Regions from separate parts of the Homo sapiens genome. Here all the other regions are linked to region 3. Evidence: promoter capture Hi-C in human tissues and cell types (Jung and others, 2019). All regions are on one chromosome and are shown on one strand. The core of a region is centred on a gene start or on the middle of the fragment in contact, and the rest is flanking DNA. Distances in the headings are between cores, read along the strand shown. Region 1 holds the start of HSPA5 (heat shock protein family A (Hsp70) member 5). Region 2 overlaps SCAI (suppressor of cancer cell invasion). Region 3 holds the start of NR6A1 (nuclear receptor subfamily 6 group A member 1). Region 4 overlaps PSMB7 (proteasome 20S subunit beta 7).

Evidence for each region. Contacts are between HindIII fragments. The study calls those that stand out against the background at their distance.
Region 1: the fragment with the promoter of HSPA5 here is called in contact with the fragment with the promoter of NR6A1 in region 3 in 1 of the 25 tissues and cell types used here (hippocampus).
Region 2: a fragment that was not itself captured here is called in contact with the fragment with the promoter of NR6A1 in region 3 in 2 of the 25 tissues and cell types used here (dorsolateral prefrontal cortex and lymphoblastoid cells).
Region 4: a fragment that was not itself captured here is called in contact with the fragment with the promoter of NR6A1 in region 3 in 1 of the 25 tissues and cell types used here (IMR-90 fibroblasts).

Annotation. Positions count from the first base shown.
Region 1 is chr9:125,239,953-125,242,652 of GRCh38, forward strand. HSPA5 (heat shock protein family A (Hsp70) member 5) reads right to left here and starts at 1,391. Exons shown (of 8, transcript NM_005347.5): 1 at 1,053-1,391; 2 at 724-955; 3 at 220-357. The coding sequence starts at 1,174. HSPA5-DT (HSPA5 divergent transcript) reads left to right here and starts at 1,704. Exons shown (of 3, transcript NR_186826.1): 1 at 1,704-2,111. RefSeq lists enhancers at 800-879, 1,021-1,525, 1,418-1,712, 1,526-2,030, 1,680-1,989. The HindIII fragment of the contact is 17,872 bases long and covers 1-2,700 here.
Region 2 is chr9:125,109,244-125,111,943 of GRCh38, forward strand. All of the region lies in intron 2 of SCAI (suppressor of cancer cell invasion), which reads right to left. Among named protein-coding and RNA genes, the nearest start is that of SCAI, 33 kb to the right of the region's middle. The HindIII fragment of the contact is 3,457 bases long and covers 1-2,700 here.
Region 3 is chr9:124,769,921-124,772,620 of GRCh38, forward strand. It overlaps NR6A1 (nuclear receptor subfamily 6 group A member 1), which reads right to left and starts at 1,391. Exons shown (of 10, transcript NM_033334.4): 1 at 1,100-1,391. The coding sequence starts at 1,199. LOC124900274 (a long non-coding RNA gene) reads right to left here and starts at 560. Exons shown (of 2, transcript XR_007061773.1): 1 at 1-560. LOC107987126 (a long non-coding RNA gene) reads left to right here and starts at 1,437. Exons shown (of 2, transcript XR_001746926.3): 1 at 1,437-1,853. RefSeq lists silencers at 91-340, 881-1,460 and enhancers at 1,173-1,740, 1,531-1,790. The HindIII fragment of the contact is 6,332 bases long and covers 1-2,700 here.
Region 4 is chr9:124,389,310-124,392,009 of GRCh38, forward strand. The region is part of intron 5 of PSMB7 (proteasome 20S subunit beta 7); the gene reads right to left. Among named protein-coding and RNA genes, the nearest start is that of PSMB7, 25 kb to the right of the region's middle. The HindIII fragment of the contact is 4,032 bases long and covers 1-2,700 here.

The DNA.
Region 1 (2,700 bases), core at 141-2,640, 470 kb after region 3:
ATATAAAATTTTATGTCCCTGGAATTGTAAGCATTAAATAATACATGAAAAGTCTATTTTGTTTGGCTTATAGTAAGGGACTCAATAATTAAACCTGACAAGCATGAATACCATTCTGATTAAAATTTTTGAAACCCTTCACGAAGGCTTCTATACATAACAGCCAACCGAGAATACTAATGATCAAAAAATACTTAACATTGTTCTAGAAATATTTACCTTCTTTCCCAAATAAGCCTCAGCGGTTTCTTTCATTTTAGTGAGAACCATGGCAGAAATTTCTTCAGGAGCAAATGTCTTTGTTTGCCCACCTCCAATATCAACTTGAATGTATGGTTTAGTTTTCTTTTCAACCACCTATTTTAAAGAATTATTGTTTTCAGACACAGATACAATGACATCTCAAAGTTTAAAAGACCCACTACCATCCCCACAATTTGGTTTATTTTGGTCCCTTGGGGCTGCAAATTGACTAGAAATACTTCAGGGAGTATAGGTGTCTTACAAAGTTCAGTTTTAATCGGTCTTTTATTCCTAAACTATCGTAGACAGTACGACAGCAACTGTCTTAAGTTTTGTAACATACTAATAGTATTAAAGTTATTACATACATCATGTCTATAACCTTCAACTGTTGTCTCAACACTTTTCCAGAGACTTATAACTCTAAATACTCCCACCACCCACCCGTTCTCTAACTGGATGAGAAAAACCCGGTCGAACCTTGAACGGCAAGAACTTGATGTCCTGCTGCACAGACGGGTCATTCCACGTGCGGCCGATGAGCCGCTTGGCGTCAAAGACCGTGTTCTCGGGGTTGGAGGTGAGCTGGTTCTTGGCGGCATCGCCAATCAGACGTTCCCCTTCAGGAGTGAAGGCGACATAGGACGGCGTGATGCGGTTGCCCTGATCGTTGGCGATGATCTCCACGCGGCCGTTCTTGAACACGCCGACGCTGGCAGAAAAACCCGACAGAGGGACATCAGCACCGCACTTCTCACGCCAGGCCAGGCGGCCACGCCCCGTCCCCCTGCATCCGCAACCCCACTTACCAGGAGTAGGTGGTCCCCAGGTCGATGCCGACCACCGTGCCCACGTCCTCCTTCTTGTCCTCCTCCTCGGCCCGCGCCGCGCTGAGCAGCAGCAGCATCGCGGCCACCAGGGAGAGCTTCATCTTGCCAGCCAGTTGGGCAGCAGCAGGCAGTCCAGCCACAGGCCGTAGCACAGGAGCACAGCGCAATTTCCGACTTGCAGGCGGCAGGGGCCCGGGGTCACAAGGCGCCACGAACCAGGCGAAGGGCAGGTCTAGAAATACAGGCCGCGGCGCTTCCCTCTCACACTCGCGAAACACCCCAATAGGTCAATCTGTCTGTGCTGTCTTGGCCGGCGTCGACCTCACCGTCGCCTACTCGGCTTATATACCCTCCCCCAGCCCCGTCGTGGAGGCCGCCGATTGGTGAAGGCCCTGCTCGTTGGAGGCCGTTCATTGGCCCAGGCCACCAAGCTGGCCGCCGCCGATTCGAAGCGGCCCCCTCCGCAATAAACGTCACTGCTCCGCCCCCCCCAGCTGATTCATTGGCTGCTATTCGTTTCTAACGTTCACCAATGGTAGATAACATCCGCCCCATCCGCTGGTCCCATTGGTTCAGCAGCTGTCTATCTCTCCTGCGACTTCTGACCCCGAGGCATTTCCGCTGGTAACCGCACAAGTCCCGCCTTCACTCCCGGCCCTAGGGGGTCGGAGTAGGTCCAGCAGGAGTGACCCCCCGGGGCTGTGGGATCTGAAACTTTTTCTTCTCTACTGCTTGTTCTCCCTTCCTCCATCCCTCACCCCGAAGCGGGAAGCAGCTTTCTCTTCCCAGCTTCCATCCAGTCTCTGAGTAGACCAGTCGCAGCTTAGATGCTGGGATCGCCTCAGAACACATTTCTTTGCCCTTCACGGCCACTACCGGTATTGGGGTATGCGAGTCTCAGGGCCGTTCGTTGCTCACAGGTCGAGCTGGTCTGGACTCTGTTCGACCACGAATCATGACTCCTTCCTGCCAGTTATGTCCCCTCCGCACCCTTGCCCAGCCATTTTACCAGGCCTCTCCACATTGCGCTGCCCCACGGTAAGTCGCAGGACAAGCCCGGCCAAAGGAATTGCCTCCAGCTCTGAGTCCCCTCCCTACTGTGGCAACCCACTCCAGTGCCAGCCCTCCCACACTGGATGTCTAATTTTTCTAGCTTGCCACCCTTTACTTTCCCCTCCGCTGCCCATCCTTTCCCTCTGGGGCAAAGGTTATCATTTACGGGGCTTTCTCCATCCTTTATTGTTGATACTTTTCTACCTTCATTCCAGGAAAAGGTCTGATGTACACGCAGACAACACATTTGATAGGCGAAAATCGTCTTGATAATGCCTTATTCTTATATAACATCCTGTTGCAAAAAATAATAGAGACCACTATTTGCTGAAAGCCTACCGTGGATTAAGCATTGTTCAGTGTGCTTTTCATGTGTCATTTAGTCTTGACAGTTCAATACTCGGTAGGCATTTCCCGTTTTCCAGATGAGGACATTGAAACTGAAAAAGATTAAATAACTAAACAAGTCACAGAGCTGGTGAGTGATGGAGTTAGGATTGATAACCAGGTGGAGTTCACTCTATTGCCAATACTTTTTTTTTTTTCAAGACGGAGTATCACTCTGTCACGCCCA
Region 2 (2,700 bases), core at 132-2,631, 340 kb after region 3:
TAGGAAAACCAGAGACCTTTGTTCACTTGTTTATCTGCTGACCTTCCCTCCACTATTGTCCTATGACCCTGCCAAATCCCCCTCTGCGAGAAACACCCAAGAATTATCAATTTTAAAAAATAATAATAATAATAATAATAAAAGACAGGTCTCTGGTAACAGAGAAAGAGGAGCTTACATTTGTTATTAAAGTGCCATGTATTTAATAAAACACCAAACAATTTTAAAAAAATGAGTAAATAATTTAAAGAACTATACTTTCAATTCACCATTCCCACCTTTTTATTCAATACATACCCTAACATATCTTTCCCTTATCAGTAACCCATTACTACAGAAGTAAAATGTGTTATTGACTGACAAAGCCCAAATGAACTACTGAAGCAACTACTTAAATCAAGGTTTCCATTTATCTATCTATCTATCTATCTATCTATCTATCTATCTATGTATTTATTTTTGAGGCACAGTCTCACTCTGTCTCCCAGGCTGGAGGGCAGTGATGTGATCTCGGCTCACTGCAACCGCCACCTTCCAGGTTCAAGCAATTCTCTTGCCTCAGCCTCCCAAGTAGGTGAGATTACAGGCACGCACCACCACGCCCAGCTAATTTTTGTATTTTTTAGTAGAGATGGGGTTTCGCCATGATGGCCAGGCTGGTCTCAAACTCCTGACCTCAAGTGACCCACCCGCCTCGGCCTCCCAAAGTGCTGGGATTACAGGCATGAGCCACCATGTCTGGCCCCAAGCATGCTTTAATTTAATTCAAATATCTGTTTATAGGCCTTAAGACTCAGATGATAGGAAGTTTTAGTAAATACAGAATCTACCCACTAGTTGATATTCTAGTAGAGAGGATAAAAGAGTTTACAAATTTAAACATACGTATTATGTTGGTATGACACCATTTGAAAAAGTTTAAGATTGGAAAGTTTATTCATTATAAGATGTATGACCTTGAACAGATCATTTGTCTTCATAGAAAAACACAGCTGACCAAAACCGAAACAAGTGCAAATGGAAAACCTAAACAATCCTATATCTGTTAGAGAAGTAGATCTGTAATTAAACAGTGGTCCAAATGTGAGACTATGTTTCTAAAACACAATTTTAAAAATTAGCTGGGGATGGTGGCACACACCTATAATCCCAGCTATTCAAGAGACTGAGGTGGGAGGATCACTTGAGGCCAGGAGTTCAAGACCAGCCTGGACGACTGATATGGTTTGCATCTGTATCCCTGACCAAATCTCATGTTGAACAGCAATCCCCAATGTTGGAGGTGGAGTCTGGTGGGAGGGAATTGGATCATGGGGGTAGTTCCTCATGATTTCAATTGGCAATAGTGAGTTCTCGTGAGATCTGGTTGCCTCCCCACTCTCTTGCTCCTGCTCCAGCCATGTAAGACCTGCCTGCTTCTCCTTCACCTTCCACCATGAGGCCTCCACAGAAGCAGAAGCTGCTGTGCTTCCTGTTCTGCCTGTAGAACTGTGAGCCAATTAAGCCTATTTCTTTACAAATTTACCCAGTCTCAGTTATTTCTATATAGCAGTATGAGAATGGACTAATATGGTTCTGCTCCTGCCATTTAAGAGGCCTGCTCCCGCTTTGCCTCCACCATGAGTAAAAGCGCCCTGAGGCCTCCCCAGAAGCAGATGCTGCCATGCTTCCTGAACAGCCTGTGGAACCGTGAACCAATTAAACCGCTTCTCTTTAAAAAAGAACACCAGTATTATGCAAACTTTTCTAGAGAAAAAGAGAGAACATTTCCCACCCACTATAACCTTGGATAACCATTTATAAGGAAAATCTTGATGTCCAAACCTGAAGAAGGGCAGTGTATGTACAAAATATAGATGTAAAAATCTTAAAACACATATGAGTAAATTGAATTCAGCAATATGTTAAAAAAGGATCGTGACTAAGTTGGGTTTGTTCCAGAAATTTAAGGTTGGTTTAACATTTAAAAAAAAAATCAATCAAATTAATTCAACACATTAGAAGGAAAAAAAGAGAAAGAAAAAAAATCATATGATCTTCTCAATAGATACAGAAAAAGCATTTGATAAAATTAAACATCCATTCAGAATTTTTTAAAAAGACCTCAAAGACTTCTACTTCTATCCAAGGTATAGTAACGGGGACTAGATTTACCCTCCTATCTGGAAAAAAAGGAAGAAAGCAGATGAAATAGAGTAAATCAAGCTTGTCCAACCCATGGCCCATGAACCACACGCAACCCAGGATGGCTTTGAATGTGGCCCAACACAAATTCGCAAACTTCCTTAAAACATTATGAGACTTTTTTTGTGAAAATTTTTTTTTTTTTTTAGTCCATCAGCTATCATTAGTGTTAGTGTATTTTATATGTGGCCCAAGACAACTGTTCTTCTTCCAGTGTGGCCCAGGGAAGCCAAAGATTGTACATCCCTGGACTAAATAGTGGTTTTCAAGACATTGGACATTAGGCAGCAAGGACAGTGATCTCTGAGGACAAAAGAAGGGAGGGCCTACAACTACCCCAGCTGACTGCCTTGAGAGCATTTCTAGGATGTAGCGCAGGGAAGAGGAACTCAGGCAGAGGCCCTGAGTTAAAAAGATGGAGCTGAGTGTCTAGAGACGCTAAGGCATCTAGAGTGCACAGGACAGAATGCTGTAGAGGAGAAAGCTGCACAGAGAGAAAATATTAGAGATCTAGGG
Region 3 (2,700 bases), core at 141-2,640:
ACATTCCGCGGCAAACACCGAGGAGGAAAATATCAAACAGATACAAATAAAACACCCCGCAGGGGGAGGGAGCGAAGGGGAGGAGGGCGAGGAAGCCCCGAGGAACCTGAGGACCCGGCCCGGGCGAGGGGGCGAGGGACGAGCGGTAGGAAGGGCCGGGCCAGGTGAGGGATTCTCAGCTCCCAAGGTCCCGGATCGGGACAAGAAAGAGGAGAACTGAGACTAAGAGGTGGGGACCGGGACCTGCCGGGCAGAAGCCGGGAGGAGGCAGGTGTCCGGGGCCCCGGGGCGGGCTGGAGCCCTCGGCCAGGGAAAGCCGTTGCCTGGCGGAGAGGGGAGCTGAGCAGGGGCGGAGACCGGCCAGAGCGCGCGGGGCGTTGAGGAAGGTGAGGCGCAGGGGAAGCAGGAGGCGCGAAGGGGTCCGAAAAAGGAAACGACTGGGGGATGTCTAGCGAACGGGGGTTCGGCAGAGGTGGGGGGCTCGTAGTATTCAAGGAAGAACGCTCGAGGCTGCAGAAGAGGAAAACGCTCTAGAAAGCTGAGCGGTACAAGGGTGCTGTGGAGTCGGGTCAACAGGGCAAGAAGGGAGCGTCCTCGGTGGGAGGAGGAACCCCTGTAGGGGAAAAGAGAGGCTCTGCGTTAAGGGAACCCGAGTGAGGGGATGCCCCCACTGACGGACCGCGGTGGGGACTTCCAACCTGAGGAGCCCGGGGGGAGGGGAAGGTTCGGTGCTGGGAAGACAGGGGGAGGGGACCCGGGGGGAGGAGGGAGGATTGGTGCTGAGGGGACGGGGGGAGGGGAAGCCTGTGCAGAGGGGACGGGGGGAGGGGGAAATGAAGCTCGGTGCCCAGGGACCCGGGCAGGGGGAGGGTCCGCGCAGAAGGGAACAGGGACGAAGGAGGAGGATCCACCCTGAGCGAGACCGGGGAGGAGAGGGAGGGTCCGCGCCAACGGGGAACGGGGTGAAGGGCCACCCTAAGGGGCCGCGGGGCCGCTGCGGCTTCCCAGGGCGAGGGTCGGCAGAGAGGAGGGGGATCCCTGGCGGAGGCTCAGGAAGCCGGTTCCTGCCTGGCCCGGGCGTCGCAGGCCCCTCACCCACCGTTGCGCGGCGGCGGAGGGAGCGCGGCGGGAGGCTCCAGGAACCCCGCCGAGCCCCCGCCGCCTCCCCCTCCGCTAGGCGGCGGTTCGTCCCGCTCCATGCGGTGGTGCCTAGGGTCCGCGCCGGGTTTGTTGCTCCGCCATGACCGGCGCCCTAGTCGCCGTGGTCGTCGTCCGCCGAGGGGAGGAGGTTGTCAGGAGCCCGCGAGCTCCCGGCCGCGGCTCTCTCTGGGCCCCGAGCCGCCCGGCTCCGCGCCGCTCCGCGCCCCTCCGCGCCGCGCCCCCTCAGCACTGGCCAGCTCCCTCCCCTGACGTCACACGCCGCTGCCGCGCAAGGCCCTGCGGGGCACGCTGGAAGTTGGAGTCCGCTCAGCGAGGCCGGCCACGCCGACCGCACCAACTGAAGGGGTGGAAGGAGGGATAAGAAGTCCTGAGAAGGGAAAGCTAAAGTCTGTCAATATCAAGAACCATGACAAAGCGTTTGATGTCTATGTAGTAAGCGGATACTTCCGGGCCTTGTCTTGATTGTGATTTCTACCTGATCAAAGTTCCCTAAGAGTCCTCGTAACCCCCCACCCCAACAATGAGTCTTTGCGAGGAGGTGGATCGCGAGGCAGCCGGGTGAGCACGTGCAACGAAGCCCAGCCCTGTGGGCGGGGCCCTGGAGGCGGGGCTTGAAGGTACTCACGTGGGCCTCTCCCTGCCGCTGCGGGACAAATTGGACCGGAGATTAAAGGACCGGAGTTTAACTCGAGGTGACTGCGTTCGTATGCAAATGGAATATATAAAACTCTTCTTTCCGGGGTAGTCTTTAAAGACTTTTTACCTCCGGGTGGGCGGCAAAGACTAAAGTTTCCCCTCCTCCCCTTTCATTTTCCCCCTGCCCATAGAACAGATGGGCAAACTAAGCTCCGGGCCATTGGGGCTATTAAAGAAAGCCCTAGGCTCTTGACCCCAGGTGTCTTGAAACCTTCCGTTTAAGAGGGATCCCTTGCCCAGCCTTGTTTGCCTTCCCCTTTCCTCAGTTTCCCTATCTGTAAAAGGGGGTTGGAATAAGGACAGGATCAAGTTGGAAGATCGCAAACCCCTGCCCCTCCCACCTCAGTTTCCCGAAGCTTTCCGGAAGCAAAATCCCGAATTTTGCAGCGGCTCCCGGCCGAATCCACCCGCTGCGGCCACCAGGTGGCGCGCGGCCACCGGTCACTAGGCCCGCCGGGGTGTCCGTCTTCGGCGACCCCATCGGGAAAGGATTTCGCTGCTGCCGCCAAGGGTCTAAGGCCTACCTGGCCCACTTGAAGACAAAGAACGAGAACGTTGGTGCTTTGCCCACTTCTGCTCTGCCGGATTATGCTGCAGCTTCCTCGGTGGCCGCTCATTCGCCCTCTCCTGCCCCACCCGCCCCACCAATCCCTTAGCCCTTTTATTTTTTTTTTGCCTAATTTTAAGTCCTCGTCCTGGCATTCGCATCCCTGCTTGGCCTGACCCTTGCCCACATTTCGCACCATACCCCGTCCCTCACCTGCTACGAAAGTTGCAACGCTTCTCTGCACTTGGGGGCAACTGGACCTTACCAACCCTGGTGAAACTGTATTTCATACGTAA
Region 4 (2,700 bases), core at 165-2,664, 380 kb before region 3:
GGTCTCATCAGTAGTTTCCATGAAGCTGCTCCTTAGCAACCTTCCCCAAGCCTGCCTTTCAGCACACCCACGGTTACTGAGTACCCAGTACTGCTTCCAGAACAAAGCTCTTTAAAACAGAAAAACAAGGTGCAATTCAGTGACCAGCACTTAGGTGAATGTAAGTGAGGACACTATGATGGCTACCTAGTCCCCTCAGACTGACCTCCTGCATCCACTGCCCTCCCCCAAGCCCACCTACACACCCTGTTCAACACCCGCCACCCCAACCCACCAAGAAGCCGGGCTGTGGAGAGACAGGGAGGCAGGGAGGACAAATGTCTCTTTCCCTTTCACCTGCAGGGCACTCCCCCATCCACTGCAGACACTCCACAGCTGCTCCAGCTAGGTCCTCATTCAAAGCTCCTCCTGCAACCAATGCCCTGTGGAGTCCTGGAAAGAGCACCTGGCCTGCTTCCCAGCTCTGTCAGGGCCGGACTCACCCACAGACCCTCTTGTCACCCACATCTGCTGCGCCCCAGGAGAAGGAGTCCCAAGCACCAGTTCCACAAGGACCACACCTCCAGCCAGTCTGTTACAATGAAACATCTTATAATAGCAGGCCCACTAGCTTATAAACAAAATTACTAGCTCCTTTAAGAATGTAAAATAAAAGCCCTGAAACTCCGAAAAATACATGCAACATGCAGAACATTAATAACTAAAAAGAGCTCACAGATAACTACATCAAGACTCCAAGAGAGAAGACAGTAGTTTACGAAAGAGAAAAGGTAGAGGCCTATATACATTAAGCAACACTGATCAAGTTCACTAGCAATCAAAGAAATATGAATTGAAGTAAAATAACTACCTTTTGCCTTTTTAATTAGCAAAGATTAAAAAGAATAATAGTGCTGACAAAGGTGTGATCAAATGGGTACTTTGACACACTTGGAGAAGCAGAAATGGATAGAACTCTTCTAATGGGCAATGTAGAAACATCGATTGGAAATCATACAGCTATACATACCCACCAAACCAGCAAATCTCTTAGGGACTTATTCTAAAGAAACACATGGACAAGTACCCAAGTCACGTATCTTAAAAGATCATTGTTTAGATTAAAGGGGAAAAAAAAAATACCTGGAAGTAAATGTAAAGGTTCAACAATCAGGAGCCAGGGAAAATAAACAATAAAATACTATACACACAGACATTAAACATGACAAAGTAGAAGTACATTTTTTTGGCAATGGGAAGAGATCCATGCTATAGTATTTAGTGGGGGAAAAACATGTTCTAAAGCAAAATTAACAGACATGCTTATGCACTATATATTATACAAACCTGGAAGCATATAAATCAAAATATTAAGCTTATTTCTGGGTGGTGCTATTTTCTTTTTACTTGTATTTTTAAATTTTTCTTCAAAGTGCAGGCATTAATAGCAATTTTTTAAGGTATAAAAAATTGAAGAAAATCCAACATTGTGAGGGGATGGAAAAAACAAGCAAAAGACCAAGACTTTGCTAGCTGTCACAGTCTCCGTGTAACAGCAGCAGCAGGCAGCTTATTCCTTACATTTGTATACAAGGGCCTAAAGGTCAATCCATGCATGAGTCAACAGACCCAAAGAACAACAGCAATCAATCATCACAAACAAATACACCATGTCTCTCCTGCCTAACGTCCTTAGGAGGGCTTCCTTAGGACCGTCTTAGAGGTACAATCATCTTAATAATGAAGTCCTCTGAGCGTTTCAGCATGGGGCTAGACCCCACTTATCCAGAAGTGTACTCTTGGCAAACACAGCACTGAACAAACTACAACAGATGCACACGGTACTTAAGAACTTTCACAGCACAGTCACATCAGTTTTGTTTGCTCTTCAGGCATGGCAAGTAGTAGTAGTCCCATTTTACAAAAGGAGAATAAAGCTCAAAGATAAGGAACGTGCCCAGATCACACAGCCAGTGATAAGCAAATCTGGGATTCTGAAGCCAGATCTTTCTGAATTTAAAGTGTGCGATGTTCTTTCCATTCCACCACGTTTGCCTCTTAAATAGCAAAGCCAAATGCTTGAAATCAAGATTAGCAAGTAAGCCTGGGAGATGGAGCTATCTTTTCTTAGCTCCCCACCCCAAAAAAGCATGCTTTCAAACTTGCTTCTTCTTTAGATTTCAGCTCGATTACCACACACATCTGGATATAGTTAATTTGTGTTGTTTTGCTTGGAAATTCAAATGAGACTGGAATTTAGTTAAATGTTTTAAATGATTAAACATATGCCATTCACTGTTTAGCAATGCCACTCAAGTATCTGTTATAACAGCATTTATTTTAAAATAGTCTCATTCAAAAAAAAAAAAAAACCTAAAATTAGTCTCCATTTTCTAAAACCTCTGAAGGTGTTTCGATCTTAGCTTACCAGGATTAGTAACTCACTTTGAAACTAACTTTTTCTGAGCGAACAATCCAATTCAGGATGAAATCTGAAATTTTACAATCTAGATATTGCTTTTACTTGTTCTGTACATTTAAATGTGTTATTTTTCTATGTCAGAGTTCACTAAAATACTCAACAAACTTAGCAATTCTATAATCTATGTTATTAGATATGCTAAAGAAACAGTAAAAGACTGAAATAATTTCCTAAAACCTGCTGCTTCTAAGTCAAAAGCTAGGAAGGACCTGAAAGGTAGAAATTTGCTTTTTCTAATA